3 separate regions of the Homo sapiens genome follow, and regions 2 and 3 are each linked to region 1. Evidence: promoter capture Hi-C in 16 types of primary human blood cells and fetal thymus (Javierre and others, 2016). All regions are on one chromosome and are shown on one strand. Each heading gives the region's core, a stretch centred on a gene start or on the middle of the fragment in contact. The rest is flanking DNA. Distances are from core to core; before and after follow the strand shown.

Evidence for each region. Contacts are between HindIII fragments. The CHiCAGO score rates a contact against its expected background, and 5 or more counts as called.
Region 2: a fragment that was not itself captured here is called in contact with the fragment with the promoter of ERLIN2 in region 1 in 1 of 17 cell types (activated CD4 T cells); the score reaches 6.1 in activated CD4 T cells.
Region 3: the fragment with the promoter of PLEKHA2 here is called in contact with the fragment with the promoter of ERLIN2 in region 1 in 5 of 17 cell types (naive CD8 T cells, total CD4 T cells, naive CD4 T cells and 2 more); the score reaches 8.8 in naive CD8 T cells.

The regions. Positions count from the first base shown.
Region 1 is chr8:37,735,105-37,738,700 of GRCh38, forward strand. ERLIN2 (ER lipid raft associated 2) reads left to right here and starts at 1,530. Exons shown (of 12, transcript NM_007175.8): 1 at 1,530-1,574; 2 at 2,804-2,925. The coding sequence starts at 2,819. LOC102723701 (a long non-coding RNA gene) reads right to left here and starts at 2,322. Exons shown (of 2, transcript NR_125821.1): 1 at 2,275-2,322; 2 at 1-1,694. RefSeq lists enhancers at 1,403-1,612, 2,092-2,884. The HindIII fragment of the contact is 8,102 bases long and covers 1-3,596 here.
Region 2 is chr8:38,773,015-38,776,992 of GRCh38, forward strand. It overlaps a transcript of TACC1 not described here. Among named protein-coding and RNA genes, the nearest start is that of TACC1, 12 kb to the right of the region's middle. The HindIII fragment of the contact is 2,473 bases long and covers 1,378-3,850 here.
Region 3 is chr8:38,899,223-38,903,114 of GRCh38, forward strand. It overlaps PLEKHA2 (pleckstrin homology domain containing A2), which reads left to right and starts at 2,124. Exons shown (of 12, transcript NM_021623.2): 1 at 2,124-2,223. LOC124901937 (a long non-coding RNA gene) reads right to left here and starts at 2,223. Exons shown (of 2, transcript XR_007060893.1): 1 at 1,991-2,223; 2 at 28-1,474. RefSeq lists enhancers at 536-725, 786-1,035 and silencers at 1,636-2,045, 2,126-2,795. The HindIII fragment of the contact is 6,068 bases long and covers 1-3,672 here.

The sequences.
Region 1 (3,596 bases), core at 280-2,779:
AGGGAGATGAAAGGCCTTCATTTATGGAGATGGGCACAGAGCTCCCAGACAGCACCATGTAACCCTCGTATGGGTTTCACCATGTAATGCTGAAACATCCCAACACCCAGAGCAAACGCAGGAAAGGTAAACGGGCCAATCCCAAGCAGGCATGCCTGGAAAAAACCACACTTCCCTTTTCCTGAGTCTTAAATCTGTCTAACACCACCAGCTTGCCATCTTCCCGGTGTAAAAGTTTTTCTTTTACTGAAGGCTATAATTAAGTGGACTCTTTCTCTCCTGCAAACAAAATATTAATAACCTCAGTGGCTGAATTAGAAATGCCCCAATGTGATGCTGGTGAATAGGGCAGGTGGAGGACAACGTGAGGCCCTTAGACTAGGAGACACAAACTCTGGATTCCGGGCCTGGTCCCACGTTGCCTTCAGTCTGTTTTTACTGGGCACCTAAGCCCCGGGGGTGCGGAAGGAAAGTCAGTCTCTGCTCTCCCGGGAACGTACAGTTTATCTAGAAAGACGAAGTGCACTAGCCCCTGTGCACTGTGGCAGGAGTTTAAAAAGCAGTGAACTCAAGATATTAAGGAAACACAAAGGAAACTTTCCTTGGCTTTTACCCTTGAACCTCGCTGAACTTCTTAGATTCCGTTCATTAAAATTAGAATAATAATTCCTTGTTAATATACTTTGTGGCGTTGCAGGATCCCAAGGGCCAAAGCTCCCAGAAAAATATAAAGAACAACTCAAGGTAGGGATTTTTGATTGGTGAGGTAATGATGCTAATCTGTACATTGAAAAGACTGTTTCATTTCAGCTGTGCTATAGGAAAGCAAACAGTTGCAACTCGCCAGTACCTTATCAAGGAGAGAAAAAAAAAAAGGCCGCGCATGGTGGCTCATGCCTGTAATCCCAGCAGTTTGGGAGGCCGAGGCAGGAGGATTGCTTGAAGCCAGAGTTTGAGACCAGAAATACCAAGACCCTGTCTTTACTAAAAATAAAATTGTCAAGTGTCGTGGCGTGCGCCTGTGGTCCCAGCTACTCAGCAGGGTGAGGTGGGAGGATCGCTTAAGCCCAGGAGTTCGAGGCTGTAGTGAGCTATGATCGTGCCACTGCACTCCAGCCTGGGCAAAAGAGCGAGACCTTGTCTCTAAAAAAACCAAAACGAACCAGGTTCGGCCTAATGCAGAAGGAAATCCGGAGCAATCCCCAAAGTCAACGCCTTGGAAAGGTTCGCCCTGGGTCTCAGTACTCCGGGGCATGCGCGTCCTGCCGCTCGCTCTCGGGGAGCTCCCACCAACACCGCCCTCATCCCCAGCCCCAGGACGGATACCCAAGACCGAGGTCCAGGACCGCACCGACCAAGTCGCGGGCGATCCCTGGCGGCCAGCTACGGCCATTGACCGCTGGGAGCGCGAGGGGCGGGGCGCAGAGCGAGCGCGGGGCGGGGGTGTGGTCTTCTCGCGTGAATTGATGGCGTCATCGAAGCGACGGCCCGGAAGGAAGTCGCGTGCTGAGGGGTGTGACGGTTTTCTTGCTCGTGGGCTCGGACGAGTACGGAGCGCCTGCAGGGACAGCCTGGTACGCGGCCCCCGCCCCTTCGTGCGCGCGCTGGGCCTAGCTGCCGCTCAGGGTCGGGGCTGACCCGTCACTTTCGGGAACCTCAGTCCCAGCAGCTTCTCTCCCTCAGCCGGCCCGCTCCTGGAGAGAGACAGAAACCCTTTTCTGTCGCGTCCTCTCCTTGCGAGCCGCAGGGGGACCGAGCGGAGGCTATTGGAGCCGCAGCCCCAGACCAGGGCGCTTGACCCTCTCTCGGAACGGGGCGGGGAAGGGGCGCGAGTGACCTCGGGGAGGGAAGGGCACTGGCAGGAAAGGACGCAACTGCAGATCGGTAGCCGGAGGCCGCCACGGTAAAATAAGCGCCTCGCAGATGTCCGCGCCCCGGTTACGTTAGACCTGGGAGGCAGAATCCACGCCCTGCGCTCACGGGCCCACGCACGCACAGCTGAACTTTGCAGTCAGTCACCATAGTTCCAGATCATTCAGCGTTCAGGATCCCACTCCTCCGCGTCCTGGTGCCTGAACGCGGTTGGACCTAGGAGCCTAGAGGCTCGCAGTTTGGGACATTGCCTTTCTCTCTGACCACGGGCTTGGGGATCTGTCAGGTGCAAAGTGCCAAAGTATATGGGGGGGAGTGTGGCTTCAGGCTTGTTCAGAGCCCTGTCCTGTTTAGGGCCAAAGGAATAACTGGGAAGGTGGATGCGAGGCCAACGAATCCTACCTTGAAACTCTGCTCGCCTGCTGGCTCTGCCACTCCAGCATCTGAAAGGAGTAAATAATGGTTTCCTTTGAAACTGCAGGCAATTAGGAGTGGGAGACTCTGACCAGAATTACATAGCCACAACTGCCTGTCATTTGGCATCCTCTGTAATTTGGGCCAAAGTACTGCAGCTGCCTCTCTTCCCTACTACTGGTAGGAAAGGTTCAGTGACAGCACATTCGTGTTCACAGGAAGACAAGGCTGTGTTCTGAACCCTACCCAGCTGGCACGGGTTCTCCCTTGAGCAACGGCTGTATCCGGAGCCAGTGCTTCCTCAGTGCGGTGGGGGCTCTAATTTTACAGTTAAAGAAAGGGGAACGTTGACTGAGAACGAGGAGGAAGCGAGTTGTAGATCTAGCCTTGTGTTCACACGACACCAGGCTGGATATGAGTCACTCGCAGGGAGCTCAGCTTGGTGAGGTCCTCTCGCTGTTGTGGCCTTTTCTCCTGCACGTTGGACCACACACATTTTCCCGTGTCTTTTCCCTAGGATAAAGGCTCACTGATGGCTCAGTTGGGAGCAGTTGTGGCTGTGGCTTCCAGTTTCTTTTGTGCATCTCTCTTCTCAGCTGTGCACAAGATAGAAGAGGGACATATTGGGGTATATTACAGGTAAGGCAGAGACAGGGAGAAGCCGGCAACTTCCTGTTAAATAGCTCCCTTTCCTGGTCATTGCTTTCCTAGCAGATTCTGCTGAACATCTCTATTTATATTTCCTTGAATAGGGGAGCCTTTTCAGATGGAGCTTTTTATGTCAGTAACCACGGGAAAGAGAATACACACACACACATATATATGTAAATTTAGAACTTCACTTAGTAGTCCAAGATGATGCCATGGGTGGTGATTAATAAATGTGTATATAGATTTAGAGACAAAATCTAAAGGAAACTGGTGCTCCTCATTGATCATCCCTAAAATACTGTTTTCTCCTACATTCCTCTGGCAGTCTTAGCTCTACATCCCTCTGGCAGTCTTAGCTCTACATCCCTCTGGCAGTCTTAGCTCTACACTGCTAGGTTACCTTTACAAAAGCCAGCTGAGTACCAGTTCTTGATGGCAACTTGAGAAGGTAGCCTACTCTGCTAATTTGGGATGCTCTTTTAAAATTAACATTTCAGCCAGCCTGGGTCACATAGTGAGACCCTATCTCTAAAAAAATAAAATAAAAAATAAAATTTTAATTGGCCGGCTGTGGTGTCACACACACGTAGTCCTAGCTACTCAGGAGGCTTAGATGGGAGGATCACCTGAGCCCAGGAGATTGAGACCAGCCTGAGCAA
Region 2 (3,978 bases), core at 1,364-3,863, 1.0 Mb after region 1:
AAAAGACAAAACGTATACTTAATAAACACTAGGCCCGGCGCGGTGGCTCACGCCTGTAATCCTAGCACTTTGGGAGGCCGAGGCAGGTGGATCACAAGGTCAGGAGTTTGAGACCAGCCTGACCAACATGGTGAAACCCCATCTCTATTAATTATACAAAAATTAGCCTGGCGTGGTGGCGGGCACCCGTAATTCTAGCTACTCAGGAAGCTGAGGCAGGAGAATTGCTTGAAATTGGAAAGTGGAGTTGTGGCGAGCCGAGATCATGCCACTGCACTCTAGCCTGAATGAAAGAGTAAAACTCCGTCTCAAAAAAAAATTCATTATTTTAAATATTGACATAAATATTAATATGCATATCAAATAAATTAAAATATTAATATAATATAAATTTTTATATTTAAATATTAATATTTATATTAAATAAATACTAATATAATATAAACATTAATATTTACACTGGTAAATATTAATAAAATCAATAAATATTTAAACATACATATTGTCTTTTGCCAAAAGTACTTATTCACTATTTGTGTAAAAGTATCTATCTATCTAGCTAGCTATCTATCTAGCTATCTATCTATCTAGCTATCTATCTAGCTATCTATCTGTTGTTCCATTTGTCCAAATAAGTACATGCTTGTGTATATGTAAGAGAGAGATTTGCAATCTTTATTCAGTCATCAAATATTGAGCAGAAGAAACAAGATAGGTAAGGTACTCTGTGTTCATGGAGCTTATGTCTAGTAGGGAAAGACAGATTATAAATATTAATAGAAAAACATAAATATTTCAATTCCAGATGTAAAAAGTACTTTGAAAAAGAGGGAAAAAAGGGTATATCTAGCTCACCAACATTTTAACAGTGGCTATTTATGAAAGACAATACTATGGGCAGGTTTTTCTTTCTTCTTTGAACTGCCTATGTAGTCAAAAATTCACTTTTTCAGAGACAAGGATGCTTAACATGGTCTTCTAGGCTGTCATGCCTTGTGCCTCTCCCACTTCACCAGCCTAAGCCCCTCTCCTCCCTCCAGCAGCTGCTCTTCAACCACGCTTACTCAAAACTGGAGGCTGCTTCTGTCCTTAGTGTCTTGATGAAGGAACGCTGTTACCCTACACTTCACCCAGGCAGCTTCTGCCTATCCCTGAGGCTTCAGTCTGTCACTCCTTCAGAGCAACCTCCCTTGACATCTCCACCGATGCCGTCCACCAGCCATTCTCAGAGCCCCCTGCAGTTCTTATATTTCATACATGACAATTTATATATTACATATTTATTTGTTGGCTTACTAAGCTCACTAATATGCAAGTTCTATGAGGGCAGGAACTGGGTCTCTTTTGTTCAACACAGTGTTCAGCAGAGGCTGGCAAAGCTTGGTCATTTGTCAAATTTGTGGAATGAATGAATGAATGAATGAATGAATGAACATATGTATTATTTTGCCTTAAACACTAAAGGTATTTAAAAATACATTTTTTATTATTGTTTTGAGACAGAGTCTCACTCTATAGCCCAGGCTGAAGTGCAGTGGTAGCATCACAGCTCACTGCAACCTTGAATTCCTGGGCTCAAATGATCCTCCCATCTTGGCCTCCCAAGTAGCTAGGACTACAGGTGTGCATTGCCACACCAGGCTAATTTTTTTTTGTTTTTGTTTTTGAAGGGATGGGGTCTCACTATGTTGCCTAGGCTATAAAAATATTTTTAAAGGCCAGCCACGGTGGCTCACGCCTGTAATCCCAGCACTTTGGGAGGCCGAGGCGGGCGGATCACGAGGTCAGGAGTTCGAGACCAGCCTGTCCAACATGGTGAAACCCCCTCTCTACTAAAAATACAAAAATTAGCTGGGCATGGTGGCACATGCATGTAATCCCAGCTACTCGGGAGGCTGAAGCAGGAGAATCGCTTGAACCCCAGAGGCAGAGGTTGCAGTGAGCGAAGATCGCACCACTGCACTCCAGCCTGGGTGACACGGTGAGACTCCGTCTCAAAAAAAAAAAAAAAAAAATGAAAACCAAAAACTTTTAAAACAAAGTACAAGACTATTTGTATGTATTTGCTTTATAAAACAATTTACAGTGCCTTTTAAAATGAGGTGAATTTTGGGGAGAAGTCATATCTCTATTATACATACCAAGTGGGCATATCTTTTGGGGCTGGGGGGAAACTCCAGAATTCATACCTTCATACCTTCCTTGCAAGGGTTATGAATCCTAGTTGTGCACTTTGGTGCCTGAGTAAACCTTCTTCCAAAAAGAATGATATTCGACCCAGTGATCTTTGGCAAAGGTCCTTTCCAGCTAAAAATTTCTGTGGTTCTATGAGATCTGAGATGGATGCTTAGGTTAGGAGTCAGTGATTATCTTAGTCTGTTAAGGCTACTATAAGGATATAATTGCCTGGGTGGTTTATAAACCAGTCATTTATTTCTGGAAGTTCTGGAGGATGGAGGTCCCCATGATTAAGGGACCAGCAGATTCCACATCTGGTGAAGGCTGACCTCCTGGATGTCTTCTCCCTGTGTCCTCATTTGGCAGAAGAAGGGAGAGGGAGCTGTCTGGGGTCTCTTTTATAAGGGCGCTGACCCCAGGAAGAACCCTCATGACCTAATCACCTCCCAAAGGCCCCACTTCTTAATATTCTCACATTGGAGTTTAGGTTTTAACCTATGAATTTTGGGGGGATATAAACAGTCAGTCTGTAGCAGTGATTTATCATTTGTTCAGAAAATAATGTAAAACAAATATATTCTGCTCAGTGTCTATGCCTTGGCCAAAGGAAACAGAAAACACATAAGATATTCCTATATCATACATGATGAGGTACAGGGAAGACCGGTAAGGATAAACTCGCTCTTGCTTGTCATAGTTCTATAAAATAATACAACAAAATAACTTGACTAATTGAGCCCATAAGAAAACAATTTCTAAAAATATTTTGTGTGTGTGCTAGAAATCGTCACTAGCACCAGTTAGTGTTGAAGCCAAAGAACAATGATTAATTCACTTATAGGATTTGGGTCAGTTATTATTTATTATTGTTATTATTTATCCTTAGAATTGGGCAAATATTGGAGTTATACAATCATATTATTTCAAGGAAATCTCCCCAAAGAAAATAATAACCTTCATCAATATGTAAATCCATTCTACTTGGCCTTTGTGAAATCTAAATATTGACTCCCTCCTTCTTCAACGTTTTTGTCCACATCAGTCATCTTTAAAAATGCAACTGCCTAATTTCTAGAAAGTCAGTATCACAGCTCAAGTCATTACGGCAGAAGGAAGGGTAGTCTCAGTCCTGTTTTTAGGATAATTAGGACATCATCCACGGGGCAGGCTTGAGTCTTTTGGTTCGGGAATTTTCTGCCCTGAGAAAAGACATCATTGAGATACAGGTAGAGTGTTCCTTATCCAAAATGCTTAGGACCAGAAGTGTTTCAGATTTTAGATTTTGGAATATTTGCATATACATAATGAGATAGCTTGGGGATGGGACCCAAGTCTAAACATGAGATTCATTATGTTTCATATACACCTTCTACACATAGCCTGAAGGTAATTTTAAACAGCAGTTGTAATAATTTTGTGCATGAAACAAAGTTTTGACTGTGTTTTGACTGTGACTGGCCACATGAAATTAGGTGTGGAATTTTCCACTGTGGTGTCATGTTGACAAGCAAAACGTTTTGGATTTTAGATTGTTGGATTAGGGATGCTCAACCTGTGTAGATTTATCATTTTTAAAAATGCTTCCATCTTTGAAGGAACTTTCATGTAATCCTGTTCAGAAGAATGTAGAACGAAATTTAAGGCAGGTTCTTCCCATACCTTCATCTAAGGAAGCTTAGATGCTGAAATCCCCCAGAGGAGGTTGTAATGTGAGGGTGGAGATGAGGCTGCTGTTACAAAGGGGCCCAGTGACACAGTCTGATAAAGAAGATAGACTTTTAGGCTGGGCACGGTGGCTCA
Region 3 (3,892 bases), core at 874-3,373, 1.2 Mb after region 1:
GAGTGACTCAGGCAGCCCCACGGGGAGTAGAGTTTTATGAGTTTAATATGAACCATACCCTGAAATCTGAGAAATTTACCTCATTGCTCATGCTGGAAACCCTCAGTTCCAGTCGGATTTGCTTGGAGCTGGATGGAATTGTGTTGCTTTTCATACTGAAAATGATCATCTAATTTTTAAATTTAAAAAACATTTACGTAGCACCTACTTCACGTTCGACAGGAATCTCAACACTTCACAAATGTTAACTCACTGACTTTTCCTAACAGAGGCATTGAGAAGTTAAGTAACTTGCCCAGGGGTCAAAGCCAGTAAACGGCAGAGCTGGGCTTCAAATCCAGGTTCCTTGCTTCCAGAGGAGATGCTCTTCAGTTTGTTCTGGTGCCTGAAACTTACAGATGAGTGGCAAAACCCTCCATGAACGGGGAAAAAAAAGACATTGATGTATTTATTTCAAGGGAAATGTGTGTGTGTGTGTGTGTGTGTGTGTGTGTGTGTGTGTGTGTGTGTGTTTTGCCCATCGTCCCCCTTTTCTTCCTCATTGAAAGCAAAATGCTCTAAAGCAAACAGTCTTTTTTCACACCTGAGACACCGGCGGTGTTCATTTTTGCTTTGGCAATCAAAATGGAAGAGGAAACTTGTGTGGTTTCATCACTGGTGCTTTCGGGGTGTGTGGGGCGGGCTGTCCTTCTCCCTCGGTCCTGGCTCATCGGCCCGAGCCCCCCTCCCCAGGCCTTGTGGCCTCCGGTCGGTCGTGGAGACATAAGAGGCCGCCTTTCCTCTGTTAACACCGGGAATGTGCCCCAGCCTCTCCCTCCTTCCTGCAAATCCAGTCCTTGTCCTGGAGAACCTCAGCGTCTTCTTATGCCTGCCTCTTTCAAAGCCTCGTAGGATTTACACCTGATTAACAACGTTTGCATTAGGATCGCCAGACACCGGCGCACGGCCCCGCAGGCCCGCGCGAATCTTCTACATTTTCATGTTTCGGATGTTGTCCACCTGACTTGATGCATATTCAAATGTCTCTCTCCCGACGTGGGAGGCCGGAGTCAGAACCTGACAGACCTGCCGTTTACTAACTGGGTACCCAGGGCAAATTACTTCACAAGTCTGAGTCTCGGTTTCCTCACCGTGAACCGGACTGGTACCCATAGGTTGCGGCGTGGATCAAATGAGATAGCGCAGGGGCGGGACCCGCGCACAGCAGCTCTCTTAGTTCCTCTTGGCGAGGTTTACGTAGTAACACATGCTTGTCTGTTTCCCATTTTTTCCCAGAGCACCCTCATGCTCTGGGGGCAGGAAGGGAGTCTTCGCATCACACCGAAAAAGTCCCAACGGGCACGGTGTAGGCGCCTGTGGTCCCAGCTACTCGGGAGGCTGGGGCAGAAGGATCGCTGGACCCAGGAGGTCGAGGCTGCAGTGAGCTATGACTGCGCCACCGCACTCCAGCCTGGGCGACAGAGCCAGACCCTGTCTTGATTAAAAAATAAAATAAAATAAAGAAATTAAAGTCCTTATAACCCTGGTTAGAGCGTTCCCGCCCACTGGTCTCTTAGGGCACATTTAGGACAACCTGAAGAAGCCACTCTTCTTGGGACCCTAACCCTTACCCCAACTCCTCGGTCCCCAAAGGCTAAGGGCTCGGGATCCGAAGGAGGCCCAGCTGAGGTCGCTGGGTGGGGCTCTGGGAGGAGGAAATGGGGTTCTTGAGGGAGCTCGCGCTCCAGCTCGCCTCCTCCTGCGAGGACGCCCCCTGCCCGGACACCTGCTGCCCGAGCGAGCGTCGGGGCCGGGCCTCCCCGCGGGGCAGTCTCGGCGCGCAGGTCCCACCTGCCAGGCGCGGAACGCGGGCGGCCTCGGGCGCAGCCTCCGGGCGCCCCGCCCCCGCCTCCCCCGCGCGGCCCCGGCGCCCGGCCGCACCCCCTCCCAGCCCGCGGCGCCCCGGCACCCCTCTCCCTCCCCGGCGGGCTCCGCGGAGCATTGTACTCACATCCGGGGCTGGGTTTTGCTTTAATGCGAAACGTAATTAACCCGGAAAAAAGAGCCGAGGGACGGGAGAGAAGGAGGGGGCACTGGGGGAGACCAGAGCGAGGGGAGCGAGAGGCGCGGAGAGTTTGGCAGGCAGACCCAGAAATCCCTGGAGCGCGGCGGACCCGGCGGCCGGAGGGGCGACCCCGCCCGATGTAACGCGCCCCGCCCGAGCCCCGGCCCCTGCACGGGGGGGTAAGTTGGGCGCCCTCGCGGGCTCGGGAGTGGAGAGGCGCAGAGGGGCGCGCGGGGGCTGGCGGGGCTGGGGGTGCAGGGGGCGCCCCGGCGGAGGCCTGGCGGCCTAGGGGCGCGAGGGGCGCGCGCGCAGGGCTGAATACGCCGGTCCTAGTGGCTGACAGGCGAGGGGAGGTGGCCGCAGACCCTGGAGGCCTCCTCCAACCCTCTGGGAGAGCCCCGAGGGCAGCCCCTCCTCCAAGTGCCCCGGGTGGCCAAGGTCGCCGCCGCCAGGGGTCGGGCTGCGGGGGGTGGGGCCGCGGAGAGGGTGGGGGCGGGAGTTCTGCTGAGCTGCATTTTCTCACGTTTGCAGCAGCGAAACTTCTCTGCGGGTTCTGGCGCTGGGGCACCGACCCCGCAACGACTGCCCGGGCTGCGGGAGGGGAGGAGAGCAGAGAACGTCCCCAGGCAAGTCCCTTGGGTACGGATTGGGCCATGGAGACTCCTCTTTCACTCCCCCGACTACCTTATTAAATGACAGGCCTAGAAGGCTCCCCTAGGGACTCCTGTCCTTTCCTCTGGGTGCAGCCTGGACTTCGGGCTTCTGGAACTCCAGACAGTGAAAAGGACTGCCCTAAAATGCAGGTTCGGTGCCAGGTTGGGTGAGCCCTCGAGGGGAGCTGTCGTTCTCTCTCTCACCAACTTCTTCCTCACCTTACACGCTTCCCTTTTCTCCTCCAGTCCTAAAGACGATTTCACCAAAATTTTTTTAAAAAGAAAGAGAAAAGAAGGGTGTGGGGGGGGGTGGTGGGAAGCTAGGCCGTTTAGAAGGGAAAAGTGTCCCTGCACGCCCAGAGAGGGGCGCAGGGCCCGCTGCGGCCGGAGCACCCTCACATCTCCTCCCCGGGGCCAGCCCTGCCCCCAGGCCCTAGCCTTAGGGTTTGGCTTCCTTCCTTCTTGGTGAACGCAGGTTCAGGATGTATCTTCCCCTTCTCATTCCTTCTTCCTGCCCGCCCCCTTTCTTTCTTTAGGGCTCCAAGTGGGGTTTTCAGAGGACAGTAAACGGCAGAGAAGAGGGAGGGGAGAGCACCCCACCAGAAAGCCAGCTGTGGCTCTGGGGGCTCTGAAGGCTGAGCTGTAGATGCACTTGGGGCTGAAGTCCCAAGATTGCACTAATGGTGTTCTTAATCTATCTGACCAAGTCCCATTTTCCCTTCTTTTGTCATTTTTTTTCTTTGGTTGCGAAGCCTTCCGAAACAGCAAAGCAAAAGATCTTGAAAGAATAGAAGTTTTTGCTTTCTATTTCAGTTGCATTCAGTTGACATGTATTATACATGCAAGGCAGTGATGAACAAAACACAACCCCTGTCTTTATTTTTTCTTTTTCCTTTACCTCTGGAGGGCTGGACCCTGTCTTTGGCGAGCTTACAGGACTTGTAAGCCCCCCACTTGTTTTGAGAAGCCAGAGTAAGCTTTTAGAAAGCATCATCATCATCTCAGACATTAGCCCTCTTCACCATGTGCCGCCTGAAGGCAGATGACTTTTGCACTATCAGAGGTCTAGCTTGTAGTCTAGATTATGGCCAGCCCAACGTATGACATGTACCAGGTGCTAAGTAAATGTTTATTGCATTAATGAATGAATGCAAACACATGAATTGTTTGCACTTGTCCAAATGGCAGAGAAAAG